Linked DNA regions of Homo sapiens: regions 1, 3 and 4 are each linked to region 2. Evidence: promoter capture Hi-C in human tissues and cell types (Jung and others, 2019). All regions are on one chromosome and are shown on one strand. Each heading gives the region's core, a stretch centred on a gene start or on the middle of the fragment in contact. The rest is flanking DNA. Distances are from core to core; before and after follow the strand shown.

Evidence for each region. Contacts are between HindIII fragments. The study calls those that stand out against the background at their distance.
Region 1: a contact is called between the fragment with the promoter of OR7D4 here and the fragment with the promoter of ZNF426 in region 2, in 1 of the 25 tissues and cell types used here (mesendoderm cells).
Region 3: a contact is called between the fragment with the promoter of OR7G2 here and the fragment with the promoter of ZNF426 in region 2, in 1 of the 25 tissues and cell types used here (H1 embryonic stem cells).
Region 4: a contact is called between a fragment that was not itself captured here and the fragment with the promoter of ZNF426 in region 2, in 2 of the 25 tissues and cell types used here (liver and spleen).

What each region holds. Positions count from the first base shown.
Region 1 is chr19:9,218,024-9,221,768 of GRCh38, forward strand. OR7D4 (olfactory receptor family 7 subfamily D member 4) reads right to left here and starts at 1,566. Exons shown (of 2, transcript NM_001005191.3): 1 at 1,177-1,566. It also overlaps a transcript of OR7E24 not described here. The HindIII fragment of the contact is 21,358 bases long and covers 1-2,979 here.
Region 2 is chr19:9,536,764-9,540,138 of GRCh38, forward strand. ZNF426 (zinc finger protein 426) reads right to left here and starts at 1,882. Exons shown (of 8, transcript NM_024106.3): 1 at 1,812-1,882; 2 at 1,496-1,582. It overlaps ZNF426-DT (ZNF426 divergent transcript), which reads left to right and starts at 1,903. Exons shown (of 2, transcript NR_134921.1): 1 at 1,903-2,235; 2 at 2,643-2,967. RefSeq lists enhancers at 1,188-1,923, 1,930-1,979, 2,180-2,249, 2,904-3,375. The HindIII fragment of the contact is 15,089 bases long and covers 1-3,375 here.
Region 3 is chr19:9,106,080-9,109,305 of GRCh38, forward strand. OR7G2 (olfactory receptor family 7 subfamily G member 2) reads right to left here and starts at 1,396. Exons shown (of 2, transcript NM_001005193.2): 1 at 1,235-1,396. The HindIII fragment of the contact is 11,921 bases long and covers 1-3,226 here.
Region 4 is chr19:9,279,295-9,282,543 of GRCh38, forward strand. It overlaps the pseudogene OR7H1P. Among named protein-coding and RNA genes, the nearest start is that of ZNF699, 29 kb to the right of the region's middle. The HindIII fragment of the contact is 5,089 bases long and covers 1-3,249 here.

The DNA.
Region 1 (3,745 bases), core at 316-2,815, 320 kb before region 2:
TATTCTTCCTCCTTGTCCCTTTCACATTGGTCAACTTATATTTAGTTTTAGACAGTGGTTGCGATTGTTTTGTCTCATCATTTAACAAGGATTTACGTGGTGCCCAGCACATTACTGATTCTGAGCAAGTACAAATTGAAATGTTCTATAAAGACTGGGACCAAAGCATCAACTATAACACAAAATAGAAATCTTCAAGTTTAAGACATGTTTGAATATAGACATAAATTTAATAATACAGTAAATAACATATTCATATCTCTTTTAAAATAATGATAAATGAAGTAGTAATACCAGCTCTAACAATGGAAGCAGGTTTAATGTAAGAATGTCTGCATAATTCATCACAAAAACAGGTCAGTAAAGAGAAATCATAAACAAAATCACAATAGAAAAAATGCATTTGAAAAAGATTATCAACCAGGGCAGATCCTCTCAATAAAGGAAGAAACCAAGGACAATTGCTTAACCCGATAAACAATGGTTGTTTTAATACCACAGGCAACAAGATATGCTATGTTAAAACAGTAAGGGGTTTAAATTCCTGGATACACCAAAGGCCGTCTACTACAATTTCAATCTTTTGATATTTTGGTGAACATGCAAATGGATTTTTTTTTGGGGGGGACATGGTGTCACTTTGTCACCTGGGCTGGAGTGCGGGGTGCAGTCTCAGCTTACTGCAACCTCTGCCTCCTGGGTTCAAGCAATTATCCCATCTCAGTCTCCCGAGTAACTGGGATTGCAGGTGTAAGCTAAGGTGTCAGGCTTTCTTTTTTTGTTATTGTTTAGTAGAGACAGGGTTTTGCCATGTTAGCCAGGCTGGTCTCAGGGTCCTGGCCTCAAGTGATCTGCCCGCCTCGGCCTCCCAAAGTGCTGGGATTATAGATGTGAGCCACTACGTTCAGCCAAGGGATTTTTAATATGAGAAAAAAAATTGGACTGCATGTTGAATGTCAGAAATAATTGTATTATTTCTATATGATATCATGGATACTAAGTTGAAATAGCAAAAACATAACAGCTAGTAAGTGCTGTAAATAAGTCACCATCTCCACCACATCAACCCTACCCCCAATCCCCAGACCACTCTGGGTCTGGTAACCAATAATCTGCCAGGAAAAATATAGAATATAATAGAAAAATCCAATCACATTAGGAACACATAGACAATACCTTGAGCATAGTAGATCTTCCGTGAGTAGTTAATGAATAAGTAACTGGATGTACGAAATTCAACAGGAGACTAAAGTTTATAGGAAAGAGTGCAGGAGAGTTAGAGACTGTTCGGAAAATAACTTATTAAAGACGGGCCCTGGATTCCAAGGAGTGAGAACAGAAGGTGGGAGACACTGGTTTCTGTGAAAACTAAAGTACCATCAAAGTACAGGGACTTCACCTTCATAGACTCAATAAGTATGGGACTTTCCAGGCTCATTACTGTGAAGGCTAGTACTTATTCTCTCTCCTCTTTTCCTTCTTACCCCACCAGCCCTCACTGGGTCACACTAACTCTGATGGTTATCACTGAAGTTTTCTCTTCTACACGATCTGTTCCTAGGAAGCCGTACTGGGTTTTTTCCAAAGGCTGGGAGCAGAGAATTACAGGTGAGGTTGTTTAAACAGGGGCACATTTTAAGTTTCCAGTGTCTCAAGAGTTGAATTCTCAGAGCACCTTATTAAATAAATTGTTCTATTTTCTTCCCACTCTCCAAAGAGTTTGGCTCCCTTTGAGTAGTAAGAAGATGATAGAATGGAAATTTTTCAGTTAATTTTGTGATGAAATAGGCAGTGGTAGGGCATGATGGATTTATTTCCCCCAAGAAGAAATTCTTTCTTCGGTTTAATTTGAAAGTCACAAGTTTTGCCCTAAGGAAAGATTAATTTCTGCAAGGAACTAAACTCAGGAATCATCTCCAAGCGATGTGACTCCCTTGAAGAGTCTTTGGAGATTTTATGGATCCCTCGGTGTTGAAAATTCATGGAAACAAAAATGTCTTTTCTTTTTAAATATTTTTTCAAATTATTTTTATATATTTTTTTAAATTATAGAATTATATGTATGTATCATGTACAACTTGATATTTGGAAATATATATACATTGTGGACATTCAATGTATCTAATTAACATACGCATTATCTCACAGAGTCGTTATCCTGGTGAGAACACTTAATATCCACTCTCTTAGCATTTTCAAAGAATATCATATATATCATCATTAACTAAAGTCATCCTGCTGTACAATAGATCTCTTGAACTTACTTCTCTTATATAGCTGTAATTTTGTATTCTTTTACTAACATCTCCACAACACCAACACTACTCCTCAACCCCAAACCACTCTGGGTCTGGTAACCAACATTCTACTTCTTTGAAATCTGGATTCTATTTCTCTGAGATCACCTTCGTTAGATTCCACATATGAGTGAGATCATGTGATATTTGTCTTTCTGTGCCTCCCTTATTTCACTTAACACAATGTTCTCTGAGTTCATCCATGTTGCAAATGACAGGATTTCCTTGTGTTTTATGGATGAATCATATTCCATTGTGTATATATACTACATTTTCTTTATCCATTCATTTATTTGCAGACAACTAGGTTGATTCTGTGTCTTGGCTACTGTGAATAATGCTCCAATAAACATGGGAGTGCGATATCCCTTCCACACACTGACTTCGTTTCTTATTGATATATACCCAGTAGTGGACTGCTGGATCATATGGTAGTTCTATTTTTAAGTTTTTGAGGAACCTCCATACTCTTTTCCATAATGGTTGTACTAATTTACATTCCTACCAACAGTGTAGAAGGGTTTCCATTTCTTCATATCCTGGCCAGCACTTACTATCTTTTGTCTTTTTAGTAATAGCCATTTGAGATGAAGTGAGGTGATATCTCATTGTGGTTTTCATTTGCATTTCCCTGATGATTAGTGAAGTTAAACCTTTTAAAAATGTATGTTGGGCCGGGCGCAGTGGCTCACGCCTGTAATCCCAGCACTTTGGGAGGCCTAGACGGGCGGATCACAGGGTCAGGCGATCGAGACCATCCTGGCTAAAGGTGAAACCCCGTCCCTACTAAAAATACAAAAAATTAGCCGGGCGTGGTGGCGGGCGCCTGTAGTCCCAGCTACTTGGGAGGCTGAGGCAGGAGAATGACTTCAACCCGGGAGGGGGAGCTTGCAGTGAGCCGAGATCGCGCCACTGCACTCCAGCCTGGGTGACAGAGCGAGACTCGTCTCAAGAAAAAAAAAATGTATGTTGTCCATCTGTGTGTCTTCTTTTGACAAATGTCTTTCAGGTCTTTTGCCCTTTTTTTTTTTTTTTTTTTTTTTTTTTTGAGACGGAGTCTCGCTCTGTCACCCAGGCTGGAATGCAGTGGCGCGATCTCCGCTCGCTGCAAGCTCCGCCTCCCGGGTTTACGCCATTCTCCTGCCTCAGCCTCCCGAGTAGCTGGGATTACAGGCGCCTGCCACGACGCCCGGCTACTTTTTTGTATTTTTAGTAGAGACGGGGTTATCACCGTGTTAGCCAGGGTGGTCTCGATCTCCTGACCCCGTGATCCGCTCTCCTCTGCCTCTCAAAGTGCTGGGATTACAGGCGTGAGCCACCGCGCCAGGCTGTCTTTTGCCCATTTTAAAATTGGGTCGTTTTCTTCCTACTGAGTTGTTTGAGCTTCTTACGTATTTTGGATATTAGCCCCATATCACATGTCTAGTTTGCAAATATTTTCCTCCATT
Region 2 (3,375 bases), core at 632-3,131:
ACTGGTCTGTTTTATGGGTCTTCAAAGAGAACTACCTTTTCATAGTATTTATCTGGTTAATTTTTTTCCACCAAAGTTTGGTTTTATTTGGCTGGGCAGGGTGGCTCACGCCTGTAATCCCAGCACTTTGGGAGCCTGAGGCCAGAAGATCATGAGGTCAGGAGTTCAAGACCGGCCTAACCAACACGGTGAAACTCCATCTCTACTAAAAATACAAAAATTAGCCGGGCGTGGTGTGCGGCTGTAATCCCAGCTACTCAGGAGGCTGAGGCAGGAGAATCGCTTGATCCTGGGAAATGGAAGTTGCAGGGAGCTGAGATCACACCACTGCACTCCAGCCTAGGTGACAGAGCAAGACTCTGTCTCAAAAAAAAAATAATAATAATAATAATGACAATCATTAATTAATCAAACATGAAACAGTGGCTCAAACAATCACCTACAGAATGGGAGTCAAATGATGATAAACAGTGAAAGTTCCGCAGTTCATTATCCATGAACCAAATTCACAAAAACTCTATAGGCCTCCTTCTACCAATAAGACTAAAACCCTAAAGTCACAAAAACCACAGTTCTGGACTCCTGGTATAGATCACACCTACTCCCAGGGGTCTCAAACTAGGGGTCCTAGGGCTGACTAGGCCCACAAATATTCAGTTTGGTGGCATCTGTATAGAATATTTAACTCTTTTTTTTTTTTTTTTTTTGGAGAGATGGAGTCTTGCTATGTTGCCCAGGCTGGTCTTAAACTCCTGGGCTCAAGAGATCTTCCTGCCTCAGCCTCTCAAAGTGCTGGGATCACAGGTGTGAGCCACTGTACCCAGCCAGCTTTTTTTTTTTTTCATTGATATACAATCAATGTAGCTTAAAATGCACACATCCTTCGTTTCTCTTTTTTTTCTTTTGAGACGGAGGCTCACTCTGTCTCCCAGGCTGGAGTGCAGTGGCACGATCTCAGCTCACTGCAACGTCCGCCTCCTGGGTTCAAGTGATTCTCCTGCCTTAGTCTCCCAAATAGCTGAGATTCCAAGACCCCACCACCACGCTCGGCTAATTTTTTTTCTATTTTTAGTAGAGACGGGGTTTCACCATCTTAGCCAGGCTGGTTTCAAACTCCTTAATCCAACCATCCTGTTCATTGTAAATTTGATTATTGTGATACTAGAATAATAAAGCCTTCATCCTTTCCCTCTGGAGGTCTGATTAAGAAGCTCTCTTGGGATGTACAGGCCTAGGAACTCCATTCGAAGATAATGAATTATTATTCTTAGTATTCTTTAGCAGAAAGACTTGCGGTCTACAAACGTTTATATTCACATACACAAATACGCACACCCTATAAACCTAAAAAGCATCTTTATCTTTCGCCATGAAAGTAATGGTCAAAAATAAAACACAACACAATAAGACGAAACCAAACTTACAGATGAAACATTCGTTTGCATAAGAGAAGACAGAAAAGGCCCCCTAGAACCAACTTTCACCCAGTGCTCACCGGAACACTCAGAAATCGCCAGGTCCCTGAACCGGGAAGATCCTGGGGACGGAGCCAACGCGGATGCAAAAGGCAGCAATTATTTTCCTGCCGGAAAAAAATTCACAAACGCTGCTTTGGAGGCCTTTGGAGAGGGGCGCACAGATGAAAACACCCTGCGGACACCGTAACTATAAACCCGACTCCTCCCGAGGAGCGACGGTCCGAGCGGACGCTAGCGGGCCCAGCAGACACGAGCAGAGCGGGCCAGGCCTCTCTAACGTCCGGGCCAAACCCGTCCTTCACCCCAAAACCAGTTCATCTCCTCGGAACTCACCCAGGCCAGTGAGGCCTTAACTCTGAAAGGCAAAAAGACTCTCAGGCGCTCACAGCCGGCGTCACAAAAGGAACGGCGCACCGCTGACGTCATTTACGCTCTCCGCCTCGGGCCAGGCGGGGTTTCGGGACTAGGGTTTCTGCCGTGTAATACCTCCTCGAGGCAGAAAAATTCTACTTTCCATCTGCTTGGCTGCGGAGGACCTTGGGGTGGGCTCAGCGTGGGGGCTGCAGGCAGAAATGGGTCCAGAAGGCAAGGTCGAGGTTAGAGCCAAGCCTGTGGGCAGGGCTACGGGCAGGGGGCGGGGAGGAATGTGGGTCCAGGCCCAGAGGAAAAGGTTGAAGTTATAGCCAGGCCTGTGGGCGAGGCCGCAGCAGGGCGGCCATAGGGGAAGGAGCCAATGTGTTATGCATGTAGAAAATAGGTAACTACGTCTTTTGCTCTGTTACTATTTCAACATTTGATGTAAAAAACATTTTCTATGCAGCTAAAAGAATTGTTTTTAAAAATAATTTCTAGGTTTTCTGCCTTGCTTTAAAACATCTTTTCTTTTTTTTTGAGACAAAATCTCACTCTGTCACCAAGGCTGGAGTTCAGTGGAGCCATCTCAGCTCACTGCAACCTCCACCTCCCAGGTTCAAGCGATTCTCCTGCCTCATCCTCCCAAGTAGCTGGAATTACAGGTGCATGCTGCCACACCCTGCTAATTTTTGTATTTTTAGTAGAGGCAGGGTTTTGCCATGCTGGCCAGGCTGGTCTTGAACTACTTGTCAGGCCTCTGAGCCCAAGTTAAATCATCATAAACCCTGTCACCTGCACGTATACATCCAGATGGCCTGGAGCAACTGAAGAACCACAAAAGAAGTGAAACAGCCAGTTCCTGCCTTAACTGATGACGTTCCACCATTGTGATTTGTTGCTGCCCCACCCCAACTGATCTCTTGACCTTGTGACATTCTTCTTCTGGACGAGTCTCAGGAGTTCCCCACCGAGCACCTTGTGACCCCCGGCCCTGCCAGCAAAAGATAACCACCTTTAACTTTCCACTACCTACCCAAATCCTATAAAACTGCCCCACCCCTATCTCCCTTTGCTGACCCCTTTCTCGGACTCAGCCCACTTGCACCCAAGTGAATAAACAGCCTTGTTGCTAACACAAAGCCTATTGGTGGTCTCTTCACATGGATGTGTGTAACATTTGGTTCCGAAACCTGGGACAGGGGGACTCCCTTGGGAGACTGGCCCCGTCCTCACCCTCACTCCGTGAGGAGCTCCACCTACTACCTCGGGTCCTCAGACTAGCCCAAGGAACATCTCACCAATTTCAAATTGGGTAAGCAGTCTCTTCACTCTCTTCTCCAGCCTCTCTCACTACCCTTCCATCTCTCTGTCCTTCCAATTCCAGTTCTTTTTCCTCTCCAGTAGAGACAAAGGAGACACATTTTATCTGTGGACCCAAAACTCCAGCTCCAGTCACGGACTCAGGAAGACAGTCTTTCCTTGGTGGCTAATCACTGTAGGGATACCTGCCTGATTATTCACCTACATTCCATTGGTGTCTGAT
Region 3 (3,226 bases), core at 146-2,645, 430 kb before region 2:
ACGGAGAATAATGAAGGGCTGGCTACCCATCAGTCAACGATATAAGATTCACACAAGGCCAGGCGTGGTGGCTCAAGCCTATAATCCCAGCACTTTGGGAGGCTGAGGCAGGTGGATCACCTGAGATCAAGAGTTTGAGATCAGCCTGGCCAATATGGCGAAACCCCGTCTTTACTACAAATACAAAAAAATTAGCTGGGTGTGGTGGTGTGGTGCACGCCTGTAACCCCAGCTACTTGGGAGGCTGAGGCAGGAGAATCGCTTGCACCTGAGAGGCAGAGGTTGCAGTAAGCCGAGATCGTGCCACTGCACTCCAGCCTGGGTGACAGAGGGAGACTGTGTCTCAAAAAAAAAAAAAAAAATTCACACAATTCACCATCCTTGATTAGATATTTTTATTGCAAAAAGTAAAAAATATTTTTATTGCAATAAAGTGTGTATTTGAGGCTGGGCATGGTGGCTCATGCCTGTAATCCCAGCATTTTGGGAGGCTGAGGCAGGTGGATCATCTGAGGTCAGGAGTTCAAGACCAGCTGACCAATATGGTGAAACTCCGTCTCTACAGGAGAATCGCTTGAACCTGGGAGGCGGAGGTTGCAGTGAGCCGAGATCATGCCACTGCACTCCAGCCTGGGTGACAGAGCAAGATTCCATCTCAAAAAAAAAAAAAAAAAAGTGCATATTTCAAAACCACCGCTTCATGTTTTTGATTTTTTTTCCCTTCCCTAGGGGAACCAGTACACACACTTGATCTATATTATTCTTCTATACCTTTCATTATATTTGATATTATTCTTCCAAATAATAACAATGGCATTGTGTTGCATTTTAAAAGCTTTATATAGCCAGGCACTGTGGCTCACATCTATAATCCGGGTCCTTTGGGAGGCTGAGGCGGGAGTACAAGAGGCCAGGAGTGTAAGACCAGCCTGGGCAACGTAGTGAGAACCTGTGTCTACAAAAAAAATTTAAAAATTTGCAAAGTGTAATGGCATGCACCTGTAGTCCCAGTTACTCAGTAGGCTGAGGCTGAAGGATTGGTTGATCCAGGAATTCAAGACTGCAGTGAGCTATGATCGAGTCACCACACTCCTTCCAGGCAACAGAGTGAGACCTTGTCTCTAAAAAAACCCCAAAAAACAAAACCACCTGCCCTCATTTCCAAAGCATTAATTAACTAAAGGACTTTGGGTTAACTGATTGGCTTCAACAAAAATGATGCTCAACAACTCACATGGATATTGCAGAGGATGATCTATCCTCAGGAAGTGCAGACAGACTCGAGTCCTGGTCAAAAATATCATGTCTGGAAGGAGGTTCTGATGCAGCTTCCGAGCTGGGTAAGAGATGTTCAGTGAGGTGCTTACAGCCTGACTTGTTGCACTGTCTATATCCCTGGGACCTCAATATCCAACGCTCCTCATTACACTGGCTATTTTACCATCGTTCTGATCCCAGGAGTGCACATCCTTAAAGACCAAGACTAGAGGAGTGAGGAATTCGGGATGGCTGAGTCCCTGTCCCCTGAGGCCACGTGTACACCATCCATATCTCTCCATTGTTTCTGCTCACCTCCACTTCACGAATCTTGCTCCCAGAACACATACCATTCGTCTAGTAAAAAAAAGGATTTTGATCTGAAGAATGTGAGTTCTCTTCATTGTCAGACCCGGAAAGACATTAAAATGAGACAGAAACCACACCCCTCCTCCCCTCCTTTGAACTATGCATTCATCTCATAAAACTGCTTGCTGTTGCCACAAGTAGCTATAAATTAACCTAATAATAGCATATGAATTAAAAAGAAATTATTTAGGCAGTTAGTGAGGGTACAGAAGTCCTGGGTAAGGTTTTTCTTTTTAATAAAAAGCAGCCCCCAAATCATTTCTTTTCAGGCAAAAAGTAGCCTGAAAAATCAAGCTGCAAGCATAGGTAAGCAAGCTGAAAGCCTGCGTAGGTGAATGCCAGCAGCTGTGCCAGAAGACAGGTATAACCAACATGAAGGTTTTCTTTTTTCTTCTTTCTTTCTTTCTTATTCTTTTTTTTTTTTTTTTTTTTTTTTTTTTGAGACAGTCTCACTCTATCACCCAGGCCGGAATGCAGTGGCGCCATCTCAGCTCACTGCAACCTCTGCCTCTGGGTTCAAGTGATTCTTGTGCCTCAGCCTCCAGAGTAGCTGGGATTACAGGCGAGTGCCACCACACCTGGCTAATTTTTGTATTTTTAGTAGAGATGAGATTTGATGCTGGGCGTGGTGGCTTATGCATGTAATCCCAGCACTTTGGGAGGCTGAGGTGGGTGGATAACCTGAGGTCAGGAGTTTGAGACCAGCCTGGCCAATATGGTGAAACCTTGTCTGTACTAAAAATACAAAAATTAGCCAGGCGTGGTGACAGGCACCTGTAGTCCCAGCTACTCGGGAGGCTGAGGCAGGAGAATCGCTTGAACCCAGGAGGTGGAGGTTGCAGTGAGCTGAGATCGTGTCCCTACACTCCAGCCTGGGTGACAGAGCAAGACTCCATCTCAAAAAAAAAAACAAAAACAAAAACAAAAAACCCTTAACCTGTAAGCCATCTGCAAGTTTGGGTCTTACATGTAAACTAGCTGGGCACAGTGGCTCACGCCTGTAATCCCAGCACTTTGGGAGGCTGAGGCAGGCGGATCACGAGGTCAAGAGTTCAAGACCACAATGACCAACATGGTGAAACTCCGTCTCTACTAAAAATACAAAAATTAGCCAGCCGAGGTGGCGCACACCTGTAATCCCAGCTATTCAGGAGGCTGAGACAGGAGAATCGCTTGAACCCAGAAGGCAGAGGTTGCAGTGAGCTCAGATTGTGCCACTACACTCCAGCCTGGGCGACAGAGCAAGACTCCATCTTAAAAAAAAAAAATGTGTAAGCTGCCCCAATTTTCCTTGCTTCGTTACCTGTCTTTTAAGGTTCTTCAATCTCTGACCACACAGGTAGTATCTGGCAAGCAACAGTATTCAACCTGAGATTTCAAGATGTTATGTCCATTATGCCAGTAATAATAATCTGTGTTCCCCCAGTTGATCTGTCAATCTAAAATAATCAAAAGGGTCAGAATCTAGTTTGTTTTATTATTTTTAGAGACAGGATCTGGCTCTGTTGCCCCGGCTGGAGTGCAGTGGTGCAATCATAGCTCACTGCAGCCTCAACTTCTTGAGCCCAAGCGATCCTCCCACTTCAGCCTCCCATGTAGC
Region 4 (3,249 bases), core at 455-2,954, 260 kb before region 2:
CTGTTGATCCTCTAGGTCTTGGGAAAATCCCAGGAGTAAAAATTCTGAAACTCTTGTTTGATTTCCCAAGTCCATGTTGCTGACACATCAGCTAGACAGTTAAGGAAGGGAAGAAACATGAAATAGATGCTGAACAGGCTCCAAAATCTCTCTGCTTTTTTATTTCTTGAGGTGAATAATTGGATACAAAAGCTTTAAAATAGCAAAACTTAGGAATCCTACATTCTGTCATTTGTTATAGGCAACATTTCATAACGTTGACTAACCCCTGTTCATTGGCCTCTCAGAGGCTTACCCATTCCCTTTTTCTCTGCTTTAGAATCATCAAATCTACCAAGAGCAACTTTAGACCTTAGAGATAAAATGGTCTGCACCTGCTCTAACACATATAAGGTTCAGTGAACTTAAGAAAAGGTCAGGGTCATCTTCCTTGTCTAAGACACAACTGAGACTGAAGAAGGTCAGACAACTATGTCTGAGCAGTGAGAAAATATGAAAGCAGAGATAATAGCTAGACAAAATATTGCAAGATGAGTGGATTTAGGTTTTCAAGGAAGGAAAGAGGAAGGGAGGGAGGGAAGGAGGAAGGAAGGGAAGGAAGGAAAGAAGGAAGGAAGGAAAGGAAGAAAGGAAGGAAGGAAGGAAGGAAGGAAGGAAGGAAGGAAGGAAGGAAGGAAGGGTTACTTGTTGCCTTAAGTCCCACTTGGAATTATGGTGGCAGCCAAATTCTGATTCAAATAGGTCATGACATTACCAGTAATAACATTCATCTTAAGAAGCTGACCGCACATTAAAAACTTTCTACCTTAGAACCAGGGTTTCAAAATTAGAGACCAGAAAGATACAGTCATTTGACACTTATATGATTCTCTTTTTCCATCCACATAATAAATATGTCCTAATCTGTTTCTAGTGTCTAGTGTTGGTGCACAATTTTTTTTGTTGTTGTTGGGTTTTTGTTTGTTTTCTTTTCTTTTGAGACAGAGTCTTGAGCTGTCACCCAGGCTGGAGAGTTCAGTGGCGCAATCTCGGCTCACTATAACCTCTGCCTCCCGGGTTCAAACAATTCTCCTGCCTCAGCCTCCTGAGTAGCTGGGATTACAGGTGTGCACCACCATGCCCAGCTAGTTTTTGTAAAAATACAAAACTAACTAGCTAGTTTTTTACAAAAACTAGTTAGTTTTACCATGTTGGCCAGGCTGGTCTTCAACTCCCAACCTCAGGTGATCTGCCCACCTCGGCCTCCCAAAGTGCTGGGATTACAGGCATGAGCCACAGCACGTGGCCTGGTGCATAATTTTTGTTGAGCCGTGCTGGGAAGTACAGAAGAATTGAACTAGGTTGACAACTAGGTTGTCAGTCACTGAAAAAGTGCTAACAGCCATTCTGCAAGAGGGTCTTCTTTGGGCCAGGCTAAGTGTTAGCTGTTGGGGATACAAAGATTAATGATGTGGTCTTTTTTTTCTTATGGTTCCACCTTCCAGAAGATGGATTCAGAAACAGATCATTGTAACACAGTGAATTAAGTGCTAAAATAAAACGATGTACAGAGTGGAGTACAGAGAGGAACCCTCAATCCAGCCTGGAGTAATGCATTCAGGGAAGGAGTCCTGGAGGAAGGAATACCTGGGCAAGGAGTTACCCAGGTGAATGGTTGCACAGGGGCATTTCTGGCAGAGATATAAGCAAGGGAATAAGCCTAGAAGCAAGAAGCAGCATGGGACAGAGTTCTCTTAGCCCTTTGCTGCTGCTTAAGTACAAAGTGTTAGATAGAAACGATGAGGATGATGTTGGAGAGGTGGGCAGGGATGACATGTCTAAGAACTTTGAAAAGTATAATCCATAAAGGATGGGGCTGTGAAGGAACGGCAATCAAAGGAGTAACATGATAGGAATTGCAATTCTCCCTGGGGCCTGGAGGGAAAGATGGATTTAGGGCAGGCAAAACTAAGGATAAGGGAACAGGGTTGGGGATTCTTCATATCATTGGAATTGAGGGGAACAACTCAGGAATATTTTTGCAGAAGAAATACAAAGGCCAGGAGAGGTAAAGGAATGAGGTCAATGTCTTGCTAACAATCTCAGCTTAAGGATGAGACTTGACCTTCAAGTGAAATGAAGGGAATTATGGAAAAGAATCCTGCAGGTTTCAATGCTTCCCTCGTGTTCCCCAGAGGATACGATGTCAAGAGGAGACTGGATGTTGGGCTTGCCTGAGCCCTTCACTTTCCCTCACTCACCCATCGTACCCTAGTTGTTATACACCATGGCCTTCCATTCCAGGGAACACAGACGCTTGTCTCTTGAAGGTGTCTACTTAGAATCATGGATAAGGGTAAAGAAGGATGGGGAAGGATAAGTCTTTCTGGAGAGGCAGGAGATGTTTCCAAGCAAGTGAGGGTCACAGAGAAGAATTCAGAGAGGCTTGATCTAGGCTGAGGGCCTCTGAAGTTCTTGGGTCAGGTAGTAGGTGAAAAGAACTAGAAGTGACCAGGACTTCACTGCAAGGCACCTACAGCTCCTACTGAAACCTGCAGGATTCTTTTCCATAATTCCCTTCATTTCACTTGAAGTCAAGTCTCGTCCTTAAGCTGAGATTGTTAGCAAGACATTGACCTCATTCCTTTACCTCTCCTGGCCTTTGTTTTTCTTCTGCAAAAATATTCCTGAGTTGTTCCCCTCAATTCCAATGATATGAGGAATCCCCAACCCTGTTTCCTTGTCCTTAGTTTTGCCTGCCCTAAATCCATCTTTCCCTCCAGGCCCCAGGGAGAATTGCAATTCCTATCATGTACCTTGGAGCATCCATTTGTACAATGCAGATTGGTCACTCCAAGACCACACAGAGTGATCCAGGGCAGCGCTAAGATATCAAACAGTGCCCCAGGCCAACAAAGAGTAGCCCTTCCTATAACCTCCATCAGTCATCTACCCAAGTAATATACAGGCAAAGTTAAAGCTCGCTATACAATGGCTATTTAAGCAAGTAGTCTAGCCATTCTCCCTTCCAAGAAATCAGCCTCAACAGCCCCTTCTCCGTGGACATCACAGGGTTTCTCCTGCCCTATGATTAACAAGTCAATGCCTTTCCCCTCAATCATCTCTTTTCCCTATTTCCCTCAACACTTACTGAGCTATGAAGGTTTGACAATGTGGACCCACCACAGGAGCCACCTTGTGTCCAGAATTGGTGGGTTCTTGGTCTCACTGACTTCAAGAATGAAGCCGCAGACCCTCGCGGTGAGTGTT